Linked DNA regions of Homo sapiens: region 1 is linked to region 2. Evidence: promoter capture Hi-C in human tissues and cell types (Jung and others, 2019). All regions are on one chromosome and are shown on one strand. The core of a region is centred on a gene start or on the middle of the fragment in contact, and the rest is flanking DNA. Distances in the headings are between cores, read along the strand shown.

What was found. The method cuts DNA at HindIII sites, captures the fragments that hold promoters and counts their contacts. A contact is called where the count stands out against the background at its distance.
Region 1: a contact is called between a fragment that was not itself captured here and the fragment with the promoter of CHSY1 in region 2, in 1 of the 25 tissues and cell types used here (neural progenitor cells).

What each region holds. Positions count from the first base shown.
Region 1 is chr15:101,608,173-101,612,512 of GRCh38, forward strand. The region is part of intron 2 of LINC02348 (long intergenic non-protein coding RNA 2348); the gene reads right to left. Among named protein-coding and RNA genes, the nearest start is that of LINC02348, 4.0 kb to the right of the region's middle. RefSeq lists an enhancer at 4,158-4,340. The HindIII fragment of the contact is 4,177 bases long and covers 528-4,340 here.
Region 2 is chr15:101,250,219-101,254,578 of GRCh38, forward strand. CHSY1 (chondroitin sulfate synthase 1) reads right to left here and starts at 1,830. Exons shown (of 3, transcript NM_014918.5): 1 at 919-1,830. The coding sequence starts at 1,238. RefSeq lists silencers at 815-1,244, 1,435-1,744, 1,915-2,294. The HindIII fragment of the contact is 14,328 bases long and covers 132-4,360 here.

The sequences.
Region 1 (4,340 bases), core at 1,366-3,865, 360 kb after region 2:
AGCTTTCTCAGTAGACGGTGCTGGAAGGACTTTCCTGTAATTTCCAGGAAGGTCAGCCAAGCGGAGACTATCCCGTGGAGTCGGACGGAGCCTCAGAGCCAGAACACAATGACTCTGTGGCCATGCCTGGCGGTGACTGTCTACACAGCAGCTGGCCTCCGACCTCACTACGCAGCCTGCCACTTCCTCTGCAACCTCTCCACCCGCCAAGCAACCTCAGCACCCAGAAGGCCTTCTGCCCTGGGGGCACTCAGTTTCCCACTGCAGTTCACGCCTTTGGTTACTAATCACCTGTTCCCTGCCTGCCCTCCAGAGGGTGCCTATTGTGTGTCCACCAACTCCAAACCAGCTGTAGCTGTGTGCTCTGGGCTAAACTTCATTGCTATCCAGTGGCTGAACCACACCCTCTCCAGCTATGTCTGAACCCCAAACAACTTCATTTTTACTTTGGGAGCTCCCTCAGCCCTAGGATACTGCATAGAGCTTCTTTTTATCTTACTCTTTTTTTTTGAGACAGAGTCTTGCTCTGTTGCCCAGGCTGGAGTGCAGGGGTATGATCTCGGCTCACTGCAACCTCTGCCTCCTGGGTTCAAGCGATTCTCCTGCCTCACCCTCCCGAGTAGCTGGGATTACAGGCACCTGCCACCAGGCCTGGCTAATTTTTGTATTTTTAGTACAGATGGGGTTTCACTGTGTTGGTCAGCCTGGTCTCGAACTCCTGACCTCATGATTCGCCCACCTCGGCCTCCCAAAGTGCTAGGATTACAGGCATAAGCCACCGCGCCCGGCCTATCTTACTGTTTTACAACTGTTAATAATTTTAACTTAAATTTCCCCTGTTTAACCTGCTGTGTGATTTCTGTCTCCCGATTAGAGCCAGACTGCTACAAATGGCCCCAGACATGACCCACTTATAAGTTGAATCTGTACTATTAACAATTTTTTATTACTTTCTTAAGCCTAGAAAATCAACAAAACAATAACACAAGCTCTGATTTGCAGTGTTTGCCAACTTCCATGGTGTAAATACTCCTATCATGGCCAATCCCAAGCTTTCAATGTGACGTCACAGATTGTGGGCTTGGGAAGAGATGCCCAGTAGCTGTCACTATATACTCTTCCCACGGCATTGATATAATAGATGCAAGTAACCCTCAAAGCATAGAAAATAGCAAAAGTAGTAAAACTCATTGGGAAGGGGTGTTTGTTAACATATTTGATTATAAGTTCATATGATTAATTGTGAATAATGCCTATATTTACAACTGGCTCACAAAATCTGAGCACATTTAACGCTTGGTTCTATTGAATGTTACAAGCCAGCTCCAGCACAGCACTGGGATTAAGGGCCCCCAGCAACAAACCAGGGGGAGCTCCGCATTCTTTGGGCAATTGCTGGCCCCCTCTGGCATCAAGACAGGTCTCCGGTTCAGCCTGTGGCATTGAGATGGGGCGGTGGAGGGGGGACAGAGGAGAGGGTGCAGGCAAGAGTTTCTCTGTTGCAGGATTCACTCAGGACCTCCCATTGCTCCTGTTTTCTGCCCTGACGTTGATGCCCCTTCATGTCCTGGCCCGAGGATGGAGGCAGCAGCCTTCCCCTGGACCCTTTCCGGCACGGTCAGACCTGCCGTTTGCCATGCATCTGAGAGTCCTTGAGGTCATGGCAGCCGCTCTTTTGCCCCCACTTGAGGTCATTGAAGGAGAGTGAGGGAATGGCTGTAGGTATGGTGGTCAGCGAGTCAGGAGTCTAGTCCCGACCTTACTCCTGGCTGGTGGAAAGACTGGGGGCCAGTCGGTCACGCTCCCAGGCCTGAGGCCCCACCTGTGCGGTGAGGGTGGGCCTGATGCCACTCTGAGGACTGATGACCCTGAGGCTTCTTCCAGCTCCAGGATGAAGTCCTGCCTCACGTCCACCTTAATGGCAGGCACAGTGATGCCACCTCCCAGGATCTGGCAGCTGCAGGGGCATCAGCAGGTGCTGCGGTCCTGCTGGGATAGCCTATCCCTGGGAACTGGCCCCAGACGCTGATCTCAGGACCTGCCATCAGATAGCTCAGCCTTCGCCAAGAGAAAACAAAATGCAGGCAGGTCATCTGATCTTCCTTTTCCACTTTCCCAGGGACCAACTAGCCTTTATAATAAAACCCAGAGGAGACAGTCCCTTCCCAGAGATAAAACCCTTCCCAAGCCGTCCCTGCTACTAGGGCAACGCTGGGCGCTGCGCGGCTGGCAGGGAGCCCCAAGAGCTCTCTGCCAAGGGGGCTGGGCTGGTGGGGCCGAGGTCCCAGAGGCTGCCTGCCCAGAGCCTGTGCTAATGAGGGAAGAGGGCTACACTCCGCTTTGGAGCACCTCTCAACAGAGGGGACACCTTGGGGTCGGGGGTCAGCATGACGGATGTCTTCAAGGTTCAGTGTGCAGACAGGACCAACCTCTCCCACAAGCAAGATGCTAAGGGAAGACCCCAGAAACAGCAAGTGCAGGACATGTGAGTATGGGGGTGATGCAGAGAGCCTCACAGTACCCAAGGACAGGGTCGGAAAGACCTGAGGTGAGTGGACCGCCCTGGCCTGGGAGGCAGCCTGTAGACTGTGGGGCCAGTGACGGTCCCCTCCTCCCAGGCGCAGTCCTCCCCTTCCTGCGTCACCCTCTGCACACCCCTCTCCATTCCTGCTGTCATGCTCGGGCCAACGTCCCAGGTCTAACTAGTGAAGCCTTTGCAAGCTCCACGCTGCACTCTTAGAGAGATCCTACTCAAAAGCAGGGCTCAGAGTGGACTTTCTTAGAAGAGACTCTCTTTTCTCTGACTGCCCTTCACCAGTGCCCTACCCAAGGCTGCCCCCGCCCTGCCCCCACTTGCTCATTTTATCACCTGCCCCTCCTCCCCACTGTTCCTCCAGGCCTCAACCAAAGGCCCTCCTTCGGGTCATCCTTTCTTCCTTAAAACAGCGTCTGATGTCTGACCTAGTTCAAGAAAGCCGTGGCTCAGTGTCCGAGGAGCCCCGTCTGCAGTCTGCCCTGGCCACGCCTAGCTGCATCTCCCTGTGCTTAAACAAAGTGTCGCTAAGTCGGGAATTCATGGGCCTGTTAGCAGCGGCTTGGCTTCCACATGTCCCCTTTCATGGTCTCACTAGTGAAAGGTAGATGAAAGAGCTGGGCGTGGTGGCTCACGCCTGTAATCCCAGCGCTTTGGGAGGCCGAGGTGGGTGGATCACAAAGTCAGGAGATCGAGACCATCCTGGCCAACATGGTGAAACCCTGTCTCTACTAAAATACAAAAGATTAGCCGGGCATGGTGGTGAGCACCTGTACTCGGGAGGCTGAGGCAGGGGAATTGCTTGAACCCGGGAGGCGGAGGTTGCAGTGAGCAGAGATTGCACTACTGCACTCCAGCCTGGCCAAAGAGCAAGACTCCATCTCAAAAAAAAAAAAAAAGGTAGATGAGAGAAGAATAAAGCATAAAGCTAAGGTCTAACTTGCTAGGTTATTCAGGAGGGAGAGAGGACAGAAATTACAAATAAATATTGATATGTATACATACACCCGTACTGTAGATAGGTGTATGTGTATATATGTGCAAATGACTGTATATTATGCATACACATGTGTGTATGTGTGTGTGCACATGGTATAAATGTGTGTATATGTACATATGTATTTATACACACATGTATCAACTCCCATAAATGCACAAGGCTCAGCCTGACCTGTCATTTAACCAAACACCAGACAGTGCCTTCCCAGAACATTCTACCCTCAAGGCAGAGTGCCTCCGTGACACGCAAGGCAGGGGGCCAGCTGCAGGCGCCAGGCCAACAGGATGAATGTCTCAGGTTTTCACGCCCCTGGTGGCAGGGCAGGCCACTGTGGGCCTGCTCTCTTCTCATCTTGCTGTCACTTTAGTGTCCTTGAGGTGCTGAGGACTCTCAGTTTGTATGTCCAGCCCAACAGCTCCTGGGCTCTAGACCCAGAGACTCAGCACTGCTCGATACGGGTCCCGGGCCCACAAGTCCCCTCTACCATCCTCCTCCCACTGTGCATCCAGAAGCCTGGGTGCTCCCGGACACCCCTGCTCCCCACATGCCCATCTCCCACCGTCTGCTTGGTTTTCACTCCTAAACAGTCCTTGGGTGCAGCCACTTGTCGGCATCACCACCACCCTGGGTCATACCCACTCTCGCTCTCCAGTGAGTGCAGCCAGGCTGCTGTTTGCAGGACTTAACTCTCATCCCACCAGCTGTGGCTGCCCAGCTCCTAAAGCAACACTAGGGCCCTGGGTGGGGCCTGCAAAGGCTGCGAACCCAACGCAGCTCCCCCTCTCCTAGCCCGGAGCTGGTTCCTCC
Region 2 (4,360 bases), core at 580-3,079:
GCTGGATAAGACCCAAACTTTATCCATACAGTAAGTGTCTCTATACTTCACACATATAGGGTTTCCATCAAATCCCTTTATCGAGTCTACAACCCTCTCCAACTTCAAATTCACTCCAATACAAATCTGATTCTAACCATGCCAGCCATTCCAAAATCATCTCCCTTCTAGAGACTACATTGGCTAATCCCTTTGTTAAACCTGAACACAATTCCAGCTGCTTTTATGACTCATTTGGCCAACTAGAGCCCAGTTACTGGATAACATGCATACACCACCAAGCTGAACTAATTAACACCAGAATGCAGTTTTCCACTGAATCTACCAAGGGCCAAGAACTGCTTTTCCCCAAGGTTCTCTCTCTCTGTACTCAACAGACTGGTGTGGTCCAATATGCTGCGGGCATTCTCTTTCATTTATAGGAGTGCCTCCAACTGCGAAATGTGAGAGTATGATGTGGAAAGGTTCTAGAACTAGATTAACGTACACGGGCTCCAGCTTTGCAAGGACAAAGGTGCACATTTTAGGGAATCCAGTATCAGCCCCAACTGCCTCCACTATCAGGTACTGTGCTATGAGTTTTCCAACATTATGAGGGAGACCCGATCTGTCGGGCCCTTCTAACGAGAAGCTTCGATTTGCAAAGGCTAAAGTGCCTTCATCAGGGTGAGAGGTACACCCAGCGAGGCCACACTAGTCCATCTGACCCCAAAGGCCATGTTCCTGAGCGCCGCGCTCACCATCCCGCCTCTGATCTTTTCTCCCTCGGCCCGGCGTCTCCCGAGAGGCAACCCGATCCCGCCGGAAGCCCAAGAAGGGCCTAGGAAGCGGGCGGAGGCGAGAGCCAGGAGAGCACCCGGGATGCCGGCCGCCGGGATGCCGGACGCAGGAGGCGGTGCCCGGGGAGCAGGGGCTCACCTGTAGGCGGCCACGGCCCGAGTCTGCAGGTATTTCTGGGCGGTCATGACTCCCACGAAGAGAAAGTTCCTGTCGCGCGGGCCGCCATCTGGGTCCGAGCCGGGCGGCCAGAGCTGCGCCCCGCGCGCATCGCCGCGCGCCCCGCCGGCCTGGGAAGCCGCCGCCTGCCCGGACCGGCAGCCCTCGGGGCTGGCGCGGCGCCGTGGGCCCGCTCGCTTCAGCTCGGAAGCCCGGGGCAGGACGAGCCGCGAGGCCAGCACGAAGCCCAGGACGAGCCCGAGCAGCACGCTGAGCCAGGCGCGCCGGCCGCGCGCGGCCATGCCCGCGCCGCTCCGCCCGCCGGGCCGCCGCCGCAGGCTCCGCGCGCCCTCAGCCCGCTGCCCCCGCCCGCGGAGGCCAGCCCGCCCTAGCGCCGCGAGGCCCGGCCCGGGCAGCGCCGCCGCCGCCGCGGGCCCGCCGCGCCCATCGCGGCCCCCGAGCCGCCCGCAGGCCCCGCGCCGGCGCTTTGTTCCGCACGCCCGCCCCCGCCGCCGCGGCCTGCGCCTTTAAGAGGGGACCATGCCCGGCGCGCGCTAGCGGCGGCTCGGGCGCGAGGTGGCGGCGGCTCCTCCCGCTCGCGCGCGGGGACGCGGGGCCGGCACGACGGCGACGACGGCGGCGGCAGACGAGTCCGGGCTCCCGTCCCGCCCTGCCCGCGTCCTCCGGCTGGCTGGGCTCGGTTCGCACGGCGCCTGTCCCCGTCCTCTTCGTAGCCGGCGCCGCCGCCGCAGCTGCACATCCTCCGGCTTAGCTCGCCATTGCAACAGGAGCCCCTCACGTCACGCACGGCGCGTTATGAAGTGGCCCCGCCGGCGGCGAGCCGTGGCCCCTCTCGGGATCCGTCCGCGCCGCGCGATTGGCGCAAAAGTGAATGAGGGGCGGTTCACGTGGCCGAAGTTTGACCAAAAAAAAAAAAAGCCCTCTCGGGCGCCCCGCCCGCGCGGTCTGCGACTGGAGCTGGCGGGCGGAGGGGGCGTGGGCCCCCGCCCGGCGCCCGCGGGGCCGGAGCTGCCCGTGATCCGCACCTAGCACCCGGCGCAAGGGCGTCCCCGCGAGGACGGCCGCTTCCCGCACCGCGGCGCCCGGGCGCGAATCTCGGGAGCCAGCCTTGCAGTGGGGGCTTCTCGGCCCCCAGACTCCACGCTGCGCACGTTCCTCCCGCACGGGCCGTCCTCGCTGCACCCCACGGCCACGCCCTTCCTGCCGCCGGGCCGGCCCCGCGCTCCCGGCCCCGCGCTCCCGACCACACTGCAGCTTTGTCCGCAGTCCCGCGGCCGCACGCAGGGAACAGCCGTCCCGGAGCCCTGGGGACGTGCGCGCCTGCGAGTGGACCGTGAATTCAGTTACCTTGTTCCCTGTTGCTAGTTTCTACGCTAAATAAGAAGAAGAAGAAGAAAAAGCCATCTTTAATACTTAAGGTCCACGCTTCTCATACAGTACTAGCATTTAATGGATCTCGAAGACAAGGAAAATGAAGTTAATGCCCTGGATGGTAAACCCTACTTTCATTTACATACTGTGTGGGCAGATAGCCGGCTAGTACCCCCAGCCTGGGACTTTGTCCCTACTTTAATATAGTCCGTCTGTAAAAGTGCCGTGGATTTCTAAAGACGGATTTTGGGTCCCAGATCCTCTACTCTGGATTTTAAGTTTTATACATTTCCTCTGCAATACTTCAGCTAAGGCAGCAAAAGCGGAGGTCTCCATACAACGAAAGTTTGTGTAGAGTTTCAGTCTTGTTACTTAGTCACCAGTATATTGGGGTTTTCTAATGAAACTTTTGAAGGGCAAAGTGTTTCCCTGGGCCTGAGAAGTTACCTGCATTGAATCAAATAAACACATGCCTGGGGCAATCCTTGGATCTTTCTTCATTGTTGACCAAATGGTTGAAATACTATCACACAGTTTAAAATGCCTGTGGGAGCTTCAGATACCTTCTCGGCACCTGAATGGTGGTCACTCTTGTTTATTCTTTGGATATTACCACTTTCTTTGACACTTGTGATTTATATTAAAAATAGTTCATTACCTACCTTCCCACAGAGCCCCTCCCTAAGGGGTGATCCACATCTAAAAATAAAATACTCATTATGCAGTGAATACAGGATTCCAGCAGTGGTCTTGGGAAAAATACAGAACATACAACCATGAATTACAGGCTCGAAAACCATCGAAAAAGGTTTCCACTAAGACCATAAACCACAAATGCCGAGGAGTCACCAGATCCCCCAAATTCAGCAGCCCCATCATTCACAGTGATTTACATGAAGTACGAATCTGGCCAGATTCAGATGTTCAATTTTGTAGCATATTCAACGATTTCAGTATTTTCTAACCTGCTTTAGACTTACCTAGTTTTCTTCGAAACTAGTGTCCAGTGAAAAGCTGGCCGGGCGCGGTGGCTCACGCCTGTAAACCCAGCACTCTGGGAGGCTGAGGCGGGCGGATCGCCTGAGGTCAGGAGTTCGAGACCAACCTGACCAACATGGAGAAACCCCGACTCTACTAAAAATACAAAATTAGCCGGGGGTGGTGGTGCATGCCTGTAATCCCAGCTACTCGGGAGGCTGAGGCAGGAGAATCGCTTGAACCCGGGAGGTGGAGGTTGCTGTGAGCCGAGATCGTGCCATTGCATTGCACTGCAGCCTGGGCGACAACAGCGAAACTCCGTCTCAAGGAAAAAAAAAAAAAAAGTATATAAATATCTGATGGGAATAATATTCTGAGGATGCCAAATATTTTGTCCTCCTCAATATCCTGGTTCCTAGTTGTCCCTCAGTTCCTAGGTTAACAGTCTCACCTGTCTCACCTGCAGGCTTAATGGGGGTCTTTCGTAATGTAGAAAGGATACCCTTTTCTTTGTAAAGGCTGAGCCTGAGGGCTTACAATTCCCTGGAGAAGGAGAGTAAGACATACGGGAACTCCCTCTGGGAGAAGAGGGATATGCCAGGCCAAGAGAGGGTTGGAAGGAGAAGAGAGAAACTGAGGTCCTGTAGAAGTCTGCCAGGGGCAGGGACCAATTCCGGCATGCAGCCTAGGAGCAGGAGGGCAAGCTCTAGCACATCTGGAAGGAGCAGCTGGATTGTTGAGCTGAGGCAGTTCTCCTGGGGAAGAATCCAAAAGTGTCCCAGTAAGGGGCCTGGCTCAGGAGACAAGGCTATCCTAAGTGGGGATTTCACAGCCAGTAGCAAATACCTGGAATCAAGAACTTCAGTGACAGCCAGAGACCCAAACAGCTGGACAGGACTGGTACCCCCAGTATGAAGGCCTGTCCCATGCCCAGCCCCACTAGTCAATACCAGCAAGGAGCCAGGGAGGACAACGAGGGTCTGGAACATCTGCCCCCAATGCACACACATGCGTCCTTCCCCACAGCCCCCTGGAGGCCAAGGCTGTCCTCATC